Regions from separate parts of the Homo sapiens genome. Here regions 2, 3 and 4 are each linked to region 1. Evidence: promoter capture Hi-C in 16 types of primary human blood cells and fetal thymus (Javierre and others, 2016). All regions are on one chromosome and are shown on one strand. Each heading gives the region's core, a stretch centred on a gene start or on the middle of the fragment in contact. The rest is flanking DNA. Distances are from core to core; before and after follow the strand shown.

Region 1 (3,125 bases), core at 368-2,867:
TGAGGCAGTTCGTTCTTTCTTTTTTTTTTTTTTTGAGACGGAGTCTTGCTCTGTCGCCCAGGCTGGAGTGCAGTGGCACGATCTCGGCTCACTATAACCTCCTCCGAGTTCAAGCGATTCTCCTGCCTCAGCCTCCTCAGTAGCTGGGATTACAGGCGCCCGCCACCACACCCAGTTTTTTTTTTTTTTTTTTGTATTTTTAGTAGAGACGGGAATTTCACCACGTTGGCCAGGCTGGTCTCAAACTCCTGACCTCGTGATCCGCCCGCCTCGGCCTCCCAAAGTACTAGGATTACAGGTGTGAGCCACCGCGTCTGGCCTTGAGACAGTTCTTATCTCAGACATACAAGCATGAGTTTCCTTCCTTTCTGGTCTCTAGGCTCCAATTTGTCTGGGTCTGACAATAGTTACTTCTCCTGGAATCTGCAACTTTCAGAGCACTTTATGGAAAAAGTCGGCCAACCCCTGCCCTACACTCACTCTTGATCACTCTCCAGTGTAGCCATCCCAAACTATTTGCAGACCACCCTTTTCTCTCTGATCTGTATCCCACCCCCATGGGTGCTTCCATAGAACTAACCCCATCTAAGCATTTAACAGTTATTCTAATTGCCCTTTTACTTGTCTGACCCAAGTGTTCGCCACTCAATCCTCAGCACCCAGCACGATCCCTAGCCCTCGTTCAGCGCTTAATAAATCCATGTTGATTCAATGTGTAGCATCCTGAACAGGCAACAGCAGTGGGTTCCAACTTTCAAGGAGCTTAAAAAAGGAACTCAGCATACAAACAACAGACTAATCTACAAGGAAGAATGAGGGGGGTGGAGGGAGCACTAAAAAGCAGCAAGTACTCTGCAGCAGAACCAAAGATAAAATTCCACCTAAAGGTGCCCTTTCTTCAGGATCCTTCCTAATTTGAATACAGGTTCCCTTCTCCTCCATGACGAAATTCTTAGTGAGGTTACTTGTTGGTACGCAGTGTCCTCATCTGTAAAATAAGGCTAAATAATTACGATTTCACCGGATTATAATGAATATGGTTAAGTATTGAACTAAGGCCTAGAAAGCACGTAGCTCAGTGCACGCTTCCTAGAAAGTGCTCAGTAAACTCGGATCCTCTAACACGCTCCGTTTGATGTTAATGGAGTCCGTATCCGAGCGGGTCTCCAGTGTGCATCGCCAAGGGTATGGCCCAGCATCCAACGCATCCTTTTAGTAAGAGTAGCGACTTCTCAGCGCTCCCTTCGCCCCAGGAGAGTTCTCGGCTCGCGGCGTCGCGGCGGGGCTGCGCGCTGGGCTGAACTCCCAAGAAACCTCCTGCAGCTGAACCGGAGCAGACGCCCGCCAGGTGAAAGAACTACAACTCCCGTCACGTTGCATCCGAGTTTAGGGCCTCTTTATAGTTTATCACACCCAGCCTCTTCCGCGCAGCCCTCAGTGGCTCCGCCCCAAAGGGGGCTCTCTTCTTTCCTTGTGGAGTCCGAAGCGTGGCCACGCCCCGGTCACCGGAAAAATCCGTGTGACGTCACAAAAACCTACGCGTCGCGCGGTGGGCGGGAGTTGGCGGACGGTCCCTGGCTGGGTTCTGGAGGCCCTGGGACCGCGGAAGAGGCTTCAGACGCTGCAGCGATGCCTCGCCCACGGCGGGTCAGTCAGCTCCTGGATCTGTGAGTCTACCCTGTCCCGCCTCCCTTCGCGCCGCCCCAGCACCTCCTCCAAACGGCCAGGCCCTGCGCTGCTCTTCCTCCCCGCCCCTTTCCCACCCCCCCCGCCGACCTCTGAAGAGGCCCCGCGTGTGTTTCTGTCCCTGGGTTCCTGATCTGTCGTTTCCTGGCTGAGGACAGTTGTGCAAAGTGGGTCTCTTGGCGGGCTTGCCCCTCCAACACTCCGCTGCGCGATGAGCGTCCATTCCTCCGTCAGCCTTGACAGCTCGGCGCCCCGGCTGTTACTGGCAGTGGCCTCTCTCTTAGCAGCTAAAAGCCTTGGTAGAAAAAAACACAACGCTAGATGAGGTTCTCAAAAGCTTCTAGCAGAATTCCACCCCTGTAACTGGAATAAACATTGACAGACCCTGGGATAAAGGTAACAAAGTGGTTAAGACCACGGATCCCTGGCTGAGATTGCTGGGTTCAGCCCCCGGCTCTGCCATTCACCAGCCACGTGACCATGGACCGGTAACGTAACCTCTCCCTGTGCCTAGGTTCTTTATCTATAAAATTTTTGTGATAATAGCACCCATCACATGGAGTTGTCCTGAGGGATAAATTTAAAACATGTAAAACCCTTATAAGGATGCCCAGCAAATAATAAACACCACTAAGTGTTATTGTTATTATTATTTCCTACCAGAAATTGTACGGAAATGGAAGTTACAAGGGCAATTGCGTCTCTCCAGGAGCTTTCAGTCCGTTAATATTGCCATGTAAAAAATAGACATCTTAAGGATAAGGAGAACAATCTCCTTAATCTACTGAAGGCTTTCTGAAACAATGGCATCTGATATTTTACATTAAACTTGGGAGGCCGAGGTGGGAGAACTGCTTGAGCTCAGGAGTTCGAGACCAGCCTGGGCAACGTGGCGAAACCCCGCCTCTACTAAAGATACAAAAATTATCTGGGCACGGTGGTTCACGCCTGTAATCCCAGCACTTTGGGAGGCCGAGGCACTTGAGATCAGGAGAGTTGGAGACCAGCCTAGCCAGCACGGCAAAACCGCGGCATGTACTAAAAATACAAAAATTAGCCAGGAGTAGTAGTGGCGCCGGTAGTCCCAGCTACTCTGGAGGCTGAGGCAGGAGAATCGCCTCAACCCAGGAGGCAGAGGTTGCAGTGAGCTGAGATCGCGCCACTGCACGCCTAGGCTGCTAGGCGACAGAGCGAGACTGTCTCAAAAAAATAAAATAAATAACTATAATATATGTAGAATAATATCACAAGCGGGAGAGTAACAAACTTTTGAAATTTCTAATAAGGAAAAGAATAGGAGAAAGCTTTGTCAAGGGGGTTATTTTTGAACATTGGTAGTATCTGACGGTTGCAAATGGGAGGAAATGTATCGTAGAGAGTGAAATAAAAAGAGTAAAGGTTTGACAGGCAGGAAAGGTAGAAATATGAGAGAAGACCAG
Region 2 (3,125 bases), core at 183-2,682, 940 kb before region 1:
ACTGGGTTTCACCATATTGGTCAGGCTGGTCTTAAACTCCTGACCTCAGGTGATCCACCCGCCTCGGACTCCCAAAGTGCTGGGATTACAGGTGTGAGCCACCATGCCCGGCAGCAAACTCTCAACCGCTACACATTCTGCCTCGTGTATTTATTCCTTTCTTCATTAATTCAACACATATTGATGAAGTACTTGTTAGGCATACGGATCTTAGCCAGGCAGTATATTTTGCTGGAGAGTAGGGAGGAACCGTGGATATGGCACTAACATGCCCTCCCCCTTCACCAATAGTGAGCTCACGAAGGGCAGAAGTGATTATCTTATTTAGCTGGGTTCCCCCACTACCTCGTATGAAGCGTGTTACATAATATTAGTCTACTGGATATGGGGTTTTCTTTTCTTTTTTATTTGGAAAATCTGGAATAACAAGGATTTAAGCAGCTCTGAATTGATATAATTGCAACCAGGACTGGCAATCAAATCTCACCAACACATATGAGTCTGGCTTGGCATAGGACTCCTCATTAGAATAGATGCCAAGTTACTTAGCTAGGGAGTAGCCTGGCTTTGTTCTAACTTAAAATCCCGAATTAGAGGAAGTTTATTTTGGATTAAATTAATAACTGGAAATTAATCGATCTTGGAAAAGGTCAGACTGTTTTTATCGCATGTGTCCAATATCATTTTATGCCAACATTTTGATCATCAATCACAGCCAAGATGCCGGTATCTGCACCTTCAAATCATAGCGGTTAGTGGGGATCTAATGTTAATATAAAATATACAGCTCTGTTGGGGAAGCCTCTTTGTCATATTTTGGAAACTGCCCGTGTTTTGCAAAGATGATAAAGTAAACAGCTTTAATCAATTTGCTACTCCCCAGGCCTCAAGCTTAACACATACTTTGTTAGCAGGTGCAGGAAATTGTTTGCAGATGGTGGAATTGGCCAGATGGTTCAGAAGCCAGAAATTGAATCTGGTGAGATACTGACGGGACCATGAGAGGGCAGTGTGACAACACAATTAAGAGCAGTTAACGACAAAATAACTTGGGAGTTAAGATATGGTCCTGATTTCTTCCCTTTGCTCCACACCCACACCCCAATAGAACGTAGCCCTTCTTTTTATCCTCCTACCATCAAAATTTGTGGCATATTTTAGAAACTATTTGAGATAATAGAGTTATTTTATTTATATTTATATATTTATTTTTGAGATCAAGTCTCGCTCTGTAGCCCAGGCTGGAGTGCAGTGGCACAATCTCAGCTCACTGCAACCTCTGCCTCCTGGGTTCAAGGGATTCTCCCACCTCAGCCTCCCAAGTAGCTGGGATTACAATAGGCGTGGGCCACTCGCCAGCTAATTTTTGTATTTTGTTTATTTATTTTTTTGAAAGACAGAGTTTCGCTCTTGTTGCCCAGGCTGGAGTGCAATGGCATGATCTCAGCTCACCGCAACCTCTGCCTCCCGGGTTCAAGTGATTCTCCTGCCTCAGCCTCCCGAGTAGTTGGGATTACAGGTATGCACCACCACGCCCGGCTAATTTTGTATTTTTTTAGTAGAAACGGGGTTTCTCCATGTTGGTCAGGCTGGTCTCGAACTCCTGACCTCAGATGATCCGCCCTGAGGTGTTAGCTAGACATCCAAAGTGCTGGGATTACAGGTGTGAGCCACTGCGCCCGGCTGTATTTTCAGTAGAGACAGGGTTTTGCCATGTTGGCCAGGCTGGCCTCAAACTCCTGACCTCAGGTGATCCGCCCATCTTGGCCTCTGAAAGTGCTGGGATTACAGGCATGAGCCACCACGCCCAGCAATAGTGATTTTAAATTACAGCAGTGACAACTGAAAATTATATGTTAGACATCCCTGCATTTAAACTACTTCACTTGCCCCATTTCTCAAGCCTTCTCATTAGCCTCTTTACAACTCTACTCCAGGTTCTCAAATGTTGTTTGACATTCTTAGAAGCTTTTCATATCTCCCTTCTCTGTTTTTCTGTTTTTTGTCTCCCTCACACAAACTCAATTTGCTCATATTTGATGGTGAAGAGAAATTTCACTTTTAGCCCTTGGTTAGCTGCTACCTTTGCAGATCTAAAGGCTCCCTAGTACACTATGACAAACAAAAGGGACACCTACTCTGGGACGCAAGATCATGGGAAGCATGACGTGGTTCTGGACTTAATGGTTCTGATGATATTTTCCTGATTCTCAGATAACAGTCGAGATAAAAAGATCCCGAGAGCCAGCTGTCGCTTATGATAAATATACAGTAACTTCTGGTGTACTGATTTTGTGACATTGTTCGGGAAGTAATTCCTGGATGTCTAGCTAACACCTGTTTTTCCCAGGCACTCTAACAGATTTATAAGCATCTAATTTCCCATATTAAATATCTTTCGGGCCGGGTGTGGTGGCTCACGCCTGTAATCCCAGCACTTTGGGAGGCCAAACAGGCAGATCACTGAGGCCAGGAGTTCGAGACTAGCCTGGCAACATGGCAAAACCCCATCCCTACTAAAAATACAAAAATTAGCTGGGCATGGAGCTGCACGGCTGTAGCTCCAGCTACTCGAGAGGCTGAGGTGGGACAATTGCTTGAACCCAGGAGGCAGAGGTTGTAGTGAGCCGAGATTGCACCACTGCACTGCAGCCTGGGCAACCGAGCAAGACTGTCAAATGAATGAATGAATCTCTTTCTGCATAAACTTGGTGGTGGAATATATTTGTTTCCTGGGGCTGCTGTAACAAAGTACCACTGACTGGTTGGTTTAGAACAGCAGATATGTATTGTCTCACAGTTCTGGAAGCTAGAAGTCCAAGACCAAGGTTCCCAAGGATTGGTTCCTACTGTAAGACACAATGAATTTCTCTGAGTTTCTCTTCAAAAATTTAGACTACTAACTTCCTTGTCTTTTGTTCTCAAACTCAACTTTCCTGTTCTTCCTTGCCCCTAGTTACTGTAAAACAGCCTACCCCTTTCATATCAGCTCTAATCAATAACTCACATCTGTTCCCTTGGTTACCTGCACCCATCTAATGTTCCCCCAAAACTGCACGTCTCACACACTCCACCTCTGTACCTCATGTCCCCCTCCCCTTCTATATTTAAAAAAATATATACAA
Region 3 (3,125 bases), core at 365-2,864, 590 kb before region 1:
TCATGACCAACGGCCAATGACACCACTTCATTCAAAGTCGGCCAGTGATTGGTTACTACGTATCTGTTATTCAGTTCACTCATAGACAGCTAAGGATGTAGTTGCCTTGTCTTGTCTCCTAGTGATAAATCCATGTGATGTTTTACAAAAATGAATTACAAGAAAGAAAGGACAGCAACAAAGAGTGACAATGTTGGAAATGAAATCTGAAAAAAAAAAAACATAAATGGAGCCAGGTGCAGTGGGGTGTGCCTGTAGTCCTAGCTACTCCAGGGGCTGAGGCAGAAGCATTGCTTGGGCCCAGGAGCTGAGGCAACATAGTGAAACCCTGCCTCTAAAAAAATCCCCAAAACTACCTAAATGGAGTTATAGAAGAAATAACTGAATATGGAAATGTTGACACTAATGCTGTTTGAGGGACTTTAGATGTTCACCCAAAGAAATTTAGTGGAGGCAAATTTTTCAATCTATTAAATGAAAAAGTACAGTATGGCCGGGTGTGGTGGCTCATGCCTGTAATCCCAGCACTTTGGGAGGCCGAGGTGGGTGGATCACGAGGTCAGGAGTTCAAGACCAGCCTGGCCAAGATGGTGAAACCCCGTCTCTACTAAAAATATTTTAAAAAATTAGCCGGGCAAGGTGGCACGCACCTGTAATCCCAGCTACTGGGGAGGCTGAGGCAGGAGAATTGCCTGAACCCGGGGGATGGAGGTTGCAACGAGCCGAGATTGTGCCACTGCACTCCAGCCTGGGCGACAGAGTGAGACTCCATCTTCATCTCAAAAGAAAAAGAAAAAGAAAAGTACAGTACAGTAGTTGCAAAAAGGATGAAAATGTCGAAGAGGAAGTGATGCTGGCACATTAAAGGTACTCACAAAGATATTTCCAGATGTTTAAAGTGCAGAGGATAAAATGTTGGAAGGTGATCCAAACTTAGAAATGAGGATGACAATTTGCCAAAGCATAGAAAAGATTCTTGCTCAGTGTCCTAAGTTTTTTTTTTTGTTTTTTTTTTGAGATGGAGTCTAGCTCTGTCACCAGGCTGAAGTGCAGTGGTGTGATTTACGCTCACTGCAACCTCCGCCTCCCGGGTTCAAGCGATTCTTCTGCCTCAGCCTCCTAAGCAGCTGGGACTACAGGCACACGCCACCACACCTGGCTAATTTTTGTATTTTTAGTAGAAATGGGGTTTCACCATGGGGTTTTTAGTAGAAATGGGGTTTCAGCCTGGCGGCTGGTCTCGAACTCCTGACCTCGTGATCTGCCCACCTCGGCCTCCCAAAGTGCTGGGATTACAGGCGTGAGCCACCGCGCCCGGCCCTAAGCTTTATGGGAAGGCAAGATCAAAATACTCTTGATAAGCTGTTTACAAAGAAATAAAAGGTTAACTCTCAATATTCCTAATGTTTTAAATTATGAAGTACTAAGTAGTTTTACTATATTTTCATTTCTATATATATTTATAACCAACAGTAAGAGACTTTTTAATGTTTCACAAAAATATTTAAAGATCACAAAACAATTGTAAATTTCCCCATTAATTATTAAGTTTGTTTTGCATGGTTTCAGTTTGCATGACCATTTTTTACTGTCCCAGACTACTATGCAAACCAAGGACTGCCTGTATAGTATGATCACATATATTAGAACCTAAGATACAGTTTTGTTATCTCAAGGTGTTATTTAGAGGCTTTTAAGTTGTAGCTCTGATTTTATGACATAGTGTTTGTCCATACCTATGAAAGGAAAGCAACCCACAAATTATATATTATGGCTGCAGAAACCAAATTATTCCCAAATGATAGTACTGCAGGTAAAGAACTGGGCCTGTGGCATCAGAGAACACTGGAGTCAAATCTCGGGACCAACATTTACTTAGCTATGTGACTCTGAGAAAGCTTCAGTTTGGTAACCTATGCAAGGAGCACAGTAACGCCTCATAGGGAATTTTGATGATGAAGTGAGTTAGTGAATTTAATACTGAAGGTTCTACAATGTTAGCTATTGTGAACAATTGGTTAGCTGTGGTCCACCTCCCACAACCAAAATGTTTTTACATGGCAAACACATCTGTTCTCACAATTTTGAAAATTTTATAAAAGCAACTCTTTCATTTTAGAGTCAGGAAATATTTGAATACAAATCTTAGCTGGATTTCATTAGTTATAACAGACTGTATCTCCAGAGGTGATGATGAATTTGCTTACCCAGACTATTTGGGCAATAGTTTTCAGTGAAAAACCTGGTAATTATGTAATATGGTATTTCATGAATAGCCATGTCATTTGAATTTTTCATAAAGGAGATGGAAAATCTCTATTCTATACAATCTCAGTGAAAACTGATTATGTCAGAAGTGTTTTTGTTTTCCTTTTTTCCTTTGAAAATTAAGCAAATTTGCACTGGAAAGTGTAAACGTTATTCAATTAGTACACATGATTACAGATAAGGCTGTTTCCAAAACGCCCTTCAAAAGGAAAGGCCTCTGGATCAAATAAATATTGGATCAAAACAAAATGTACTGAATGTGTCTGAAGCTTGTTTTAGCAGCAAAAGTGTTATGATGAATAAGGTCATGCCTTTAGAACAGCCTTCAATCTGGACTCTGACAGTTGAGATTTAATATAAACATTTTCTAAGCCTAAAAAGGTAAGTCTACAGTGTCTTCACGATAGCATCTCCAGAAAACATCAAATAGAACACTGTCTCTTGCATGTGTGTTTCCTCCCTACACAACAGGAGTCCCCAACTCCCAGGCCTCTGACCAGTACCAGTTTGTGGCCTATTAGGAACCAGGCCACACAGCAGGAGGTGAGTGGCAGGCGAGCAAACATTACCGCCTGAGCTCTGCCTCCTGTCAGATGAGTGGCAGCATCAGATTGCCATAGGAGTGCGAACCCTATTGTGAACTGCGCATGCGAGGGATCTAGGTTGCAAGCTCCTTATGAGATCTAATGGCCCCAGACCACCCGCACCCTATCTGTGGAAAAATTGTCTTCCATGAAACAGATCACTGGTCCAAAAAAAGTTGGGGACTGCTGCTATACAGTACTACTTTCTATATTTAATACGTTTCTGCTGAAATCAATTGAATAGGAAATTGTATCCAAATTACATATATATTA
Region 4 (3,125 bases), core at 305-2,804, 520 kb before region 1:
AGAGACGGGGTTTCACTATGTTGGTCAGGCTGGTCTTGAACTCCTGACCTCAGGTGATCCGCCTGCCTTGGCCTCCCAAAGTGCTGGGATTACAGGCGTGAGCCATCACACTCAGTCTTCTTTTTTTTTGAGACAGTCTTGCTCTGTTGCCCAGGCTGGTGTGCAGTGGTGCAATCTCGGCTCACTGCAACCTCTGCCTCACAGTTCAACCAATTTTCCTGCCTCAGCCTCCTGAGTAGCTGGGACTACTGGCTAGAGTGAAGTGAGTGTGCACCACCACACCCAGCTAATTTTTGTATTTTTAGCAGAGACAGGGTTTCTCCATATTGTCCAGGCTGGTCTTGAACTCCTGACCTCGAGTGATCTGCCCACCTCGGCCTCCCAAAGTGCTGGGATTACAGGTGTGAGCCACCATGCCCGGCCCAACAGAGGTCTTTAATGGTTTCTCCTTTTCTCTACCTGCTTCTGTACACCAGAGTGTCTGAGGCTGGATCTTCAGATGTATTCTCGTCATTCCTTAGGTTATCTCCTCCAAGCCCATGGCTTAAAATGTCATCTATTCACTGATGACTCCCAAATTTCTTTCTCTAGCCCAGCCTCTACCCTGAGCCCAGACTTGTGTATCCAATTACCTACTTGTCTTCACCACTTGAAGGTCTAATAGGCATTTTTTTTTTTTTTTTGATACAGGGTCTCGCTCTGTCATCCAGAGCGAAACCCAGAGCGAGTCTGTTACCATGACTCAAGTGATCCTCCCACCTCAGCCTCCCTAGTAGCTGGGACTACAGGCACACACCACCATACCGGGCTAATTTTTGTATTTTTTGTAGAAACAAGGTTTTGCTGTGTTGCCCAGGCTGGTCTCAAACTCCTGAACTCAAGGGATCCACCCACCTCAGTCTCCCAAAGTTCTAGATTACAGGTGTGAGCCACGGTGCCTGACCATAACAGGCATCTTGAACTAAACATGATCAAAACAGAACTCTTGATGTCATACTCCCCACCCCCAAACCAACCCAGCTTCTCAATGAGAGGTCCCATTTTACAACATGACAGCACAGTACTATGTTTATGTCCATCTCACACACTTGACTGTAAGTTTCATGAGAGCAAGGGTTTTGTCTTGTTTTTTGCTGTATCTCTTGTGCCTACAGCAGTCTCTGGCAAAAAGACAGTGTTCAATGAATATTTGATGAATGCAGAATAGTGGGGCAAGGAAAGTAAAAACAATAAACACTGAAAATCTGCAAATAATCAAATAACTGTAAAGATGATTTTTTTTGAGACAAGGTCTCACTCTGTACTGCAGGATAGAGTTCATTGACACCATCACAGCTCACTGCAGCCTCAACCCCCCAGGCTCAAGCATTCCTCCTGCCTTAGCCTCCAAAGTAGTTGAGACTATAGGCACACGGCACCATGTCTGGCTAATTTTTAAAATTTTTATAGAGATGGAGTCCTACTATGTTGTCCAGGCTGGTCTTTAATCACTGGCCTCAAGCGATCCTCCCACCTTGGCCACCCAAAATGCTGGGATTACAAGTGTGAGCCACCGTGCCTGGCCTCTTTTGTTTTTCTTTTTTTAATCAACCTTTTTTTTTTTTTTTTTCCTGATGGGTTCTCACTATGTTCCCCAGGCTGTTCTCAAACTCCCAGTCACAAGTGATCCTCCCGCCTCAGCCTCCCAAGCAGCTGGGACTTCAGGCACACACCACTGGACCTGGCTATAATTCATATTTCTTGATAAGAAAAGTTGATGGATGCTTTTTCTTTCCAGATGTTAAAACTTGTTTTAACCCAATACGCAAATCTTTAAATATGCCTTTGGGTTTTTTTGCTCCAAGTTGTGATTTCATCCTTTTTCCTTTTTTTTTTTTTTTTTTTTTTTTTGAGACAGAGTATCATTCTATCACCCAGGCTGTAGTGCAGTGACACGATCTCGGCTCACTGCAACCTCTGCCTCCTGGGTTCAAGCGATTCTCCCATCTCAGCCTCCCAAGTAGCTGGGACTACAGGTGTGCGCCACCACACCTGGCTAATTTTTGTATTTTTAGTAGAGAAGGGGTTTCACTATGTTGGCCAGACTGGTCTCGAACTCCTGACCTCAGACAATCCGCCCACCTCAGCCTCCCAAAGTGTGGGATTACAGGCATGAGCCACCGTGCCCAGCTTATCCTTTTTCTTAAACTATGGTTAATTGGACACTTATCCTAGTAACTACTCTAAGAGCTTTGCATTACCTCATTTAATTCTCAAAGTAACACTATATTGCAATATTATGCTCATCTAACAGATGAAGAAACTCAGGCAGAGAGAGGCACGTAACTTGTCAGGGCCATGATTCAAATCCAAGTCTCTCTGACTTCAGATCCCATGCCTTAATTGCTAAGCTATATGGCCTCCTTTGTTCCTGCTGATGATTTGGATTACATTCAATACACTGTTTGCTTTAGGAAAATCACTTGATCTTAGTCCTGGGCAAACAGCTTGTGTTCCAAATAACAGCAGATATCCTGACCAGGCCTCAAATAGTCACTTGAATTGAGCTTAAACTAAGCTCTTTGAGAATGGCGTGAACCTGGGAGGGGGAGCTTGCAGTGAGCTGAGATCGCGCCACTGCACTCCAGCCTGGGGGACAGAGCGAGACTCCGTCTCAAAAAAAAAAAAAACAAAAAACAAAACTAAGCTCTTTGATTCCCAGCAAACAAGTAAAAAATAAAGCACATAGAGTTATATAATTCTAGTTATCTGATTTTTAAAATACTACTAGATATTCAAAAGAAATACATTTATTTGTTTACTATTATTTTTATCCCTATTATACAGATGAAAAAACTGAGGCTTGGAAAGATTACAAGATTCAGACAAGATTCCATTGAAAATAAGTGGTGGGGCCTGATTCTGAGCCCAGGTCTTTGTCTTCAGAGTCTATATTTTAAAACATCATATTATATGGTTCAGAAGAGCTTGCATTTTAAAAAATAGCCTATGTCGGCCGGGCATGGTGGCTCACACCTGTAATCCCAGCACTTTGGGAGGCCAAGGCAGGCAGATCACGAGATTAAGAAATTGAGATCATACTGGCCAACATGGTGAAACCCCATTTCTACTAAAAATACAAAAAT

What was found. The method cuts DNA at HindIII sites, captures the fragments that hold promoters and counts their contacts. A CHiCAGO score of 5 or more calls a contact.
Region 2: a contact is called between a fragment that was not itself captured here and the fragment with the promoter of AMN1 in region 1, in 2 of 17 cell types (endothelial precursors and fetal thymus). The highest score is 6.1, in endothelial precursors.
Region 3: a fragment that was not itself captured here is called in contact with the fragment with the promoter of AMN1 in region 1 in 1 of 17 cell types (non-activated CD4 T cells); the score reaches 5.2 in non-activated CD4 T cells.
Region 4: a contact is called between a fragment that was not itself captured here and the fragment with the promoter of AMN1 in region 1, in 2 of 17 cell types (total B cells and fetal thymus). The highest score is 5.4, in total B cells.

Annotation. Positions count from the first base shown.
Region 1 is chr12:31,727,513-31,730,637 of GRCh38, reverse strand. AMN1 (antagonist of mitotic exit network 1 homolog) reads left to right here and starts at 1,617. Exons shown (of 7, transcript NM_001113402.2): 1 at 1,617-1,667. The coding sequence starts at 1,630. AMN1-AS1 (AMN1 antisense RNA 1) reads right to left here and starts at 1,373. Exons shown (of 1, transcript NR_198987.1): 1 at 1-1,373. It overlaps LOC105369722 (a long non-coding RNA gene), which reads right to left. Exons shown (of 3, transcript XR_931497.3): 3 at 1,748-1,981. RefSeq lists enhancers at 1,109-1,308, 704-1,336, 1,349-1,698 and a silencer at 1,749-1,828. The HindIII fragment of the contact is 3,446 bases long and covers 1-2,025 here.
Region 2 is chr12:32,669,974-32,673,098 of GRCh38, reverse strand. No RefSeq gene overlaps it. Among named protein-coding and RNA genes, the nearest start is that of DNM1L, 7.8 kb to the left of the region's middle. The HindIII fragment of the contact is 1,077 bases long and covers 894-1,970 here.
Region 3 is chr12:32,322,244-32,325,368 of GRCh38, reverse strand. All of the region lies in intron 4 of BICD1 (BICD cargo adaptor 1), which reads right to left. Among named protein-coding and RNA genes, the nearest start is that of FGD4, 76 kb to the left of the region's middle. The HindIII fragment of the contact is 573 bases long and covers 1,328-1,900 here.
Region 4 is chr12:32,244,795-32,247,919 of GRCh38, reverse strand. All of the region lies in intron 2 of BICD1 (BICD cargo adaptor 1), which reads right to left. Among named protein-coding and RNA genes, the nearest start is that of BICD1-AS1, 140 kb to the right of the region's middle. The HindIII fragment of the contact is 7,468 bases long and covers 1-3,125 here.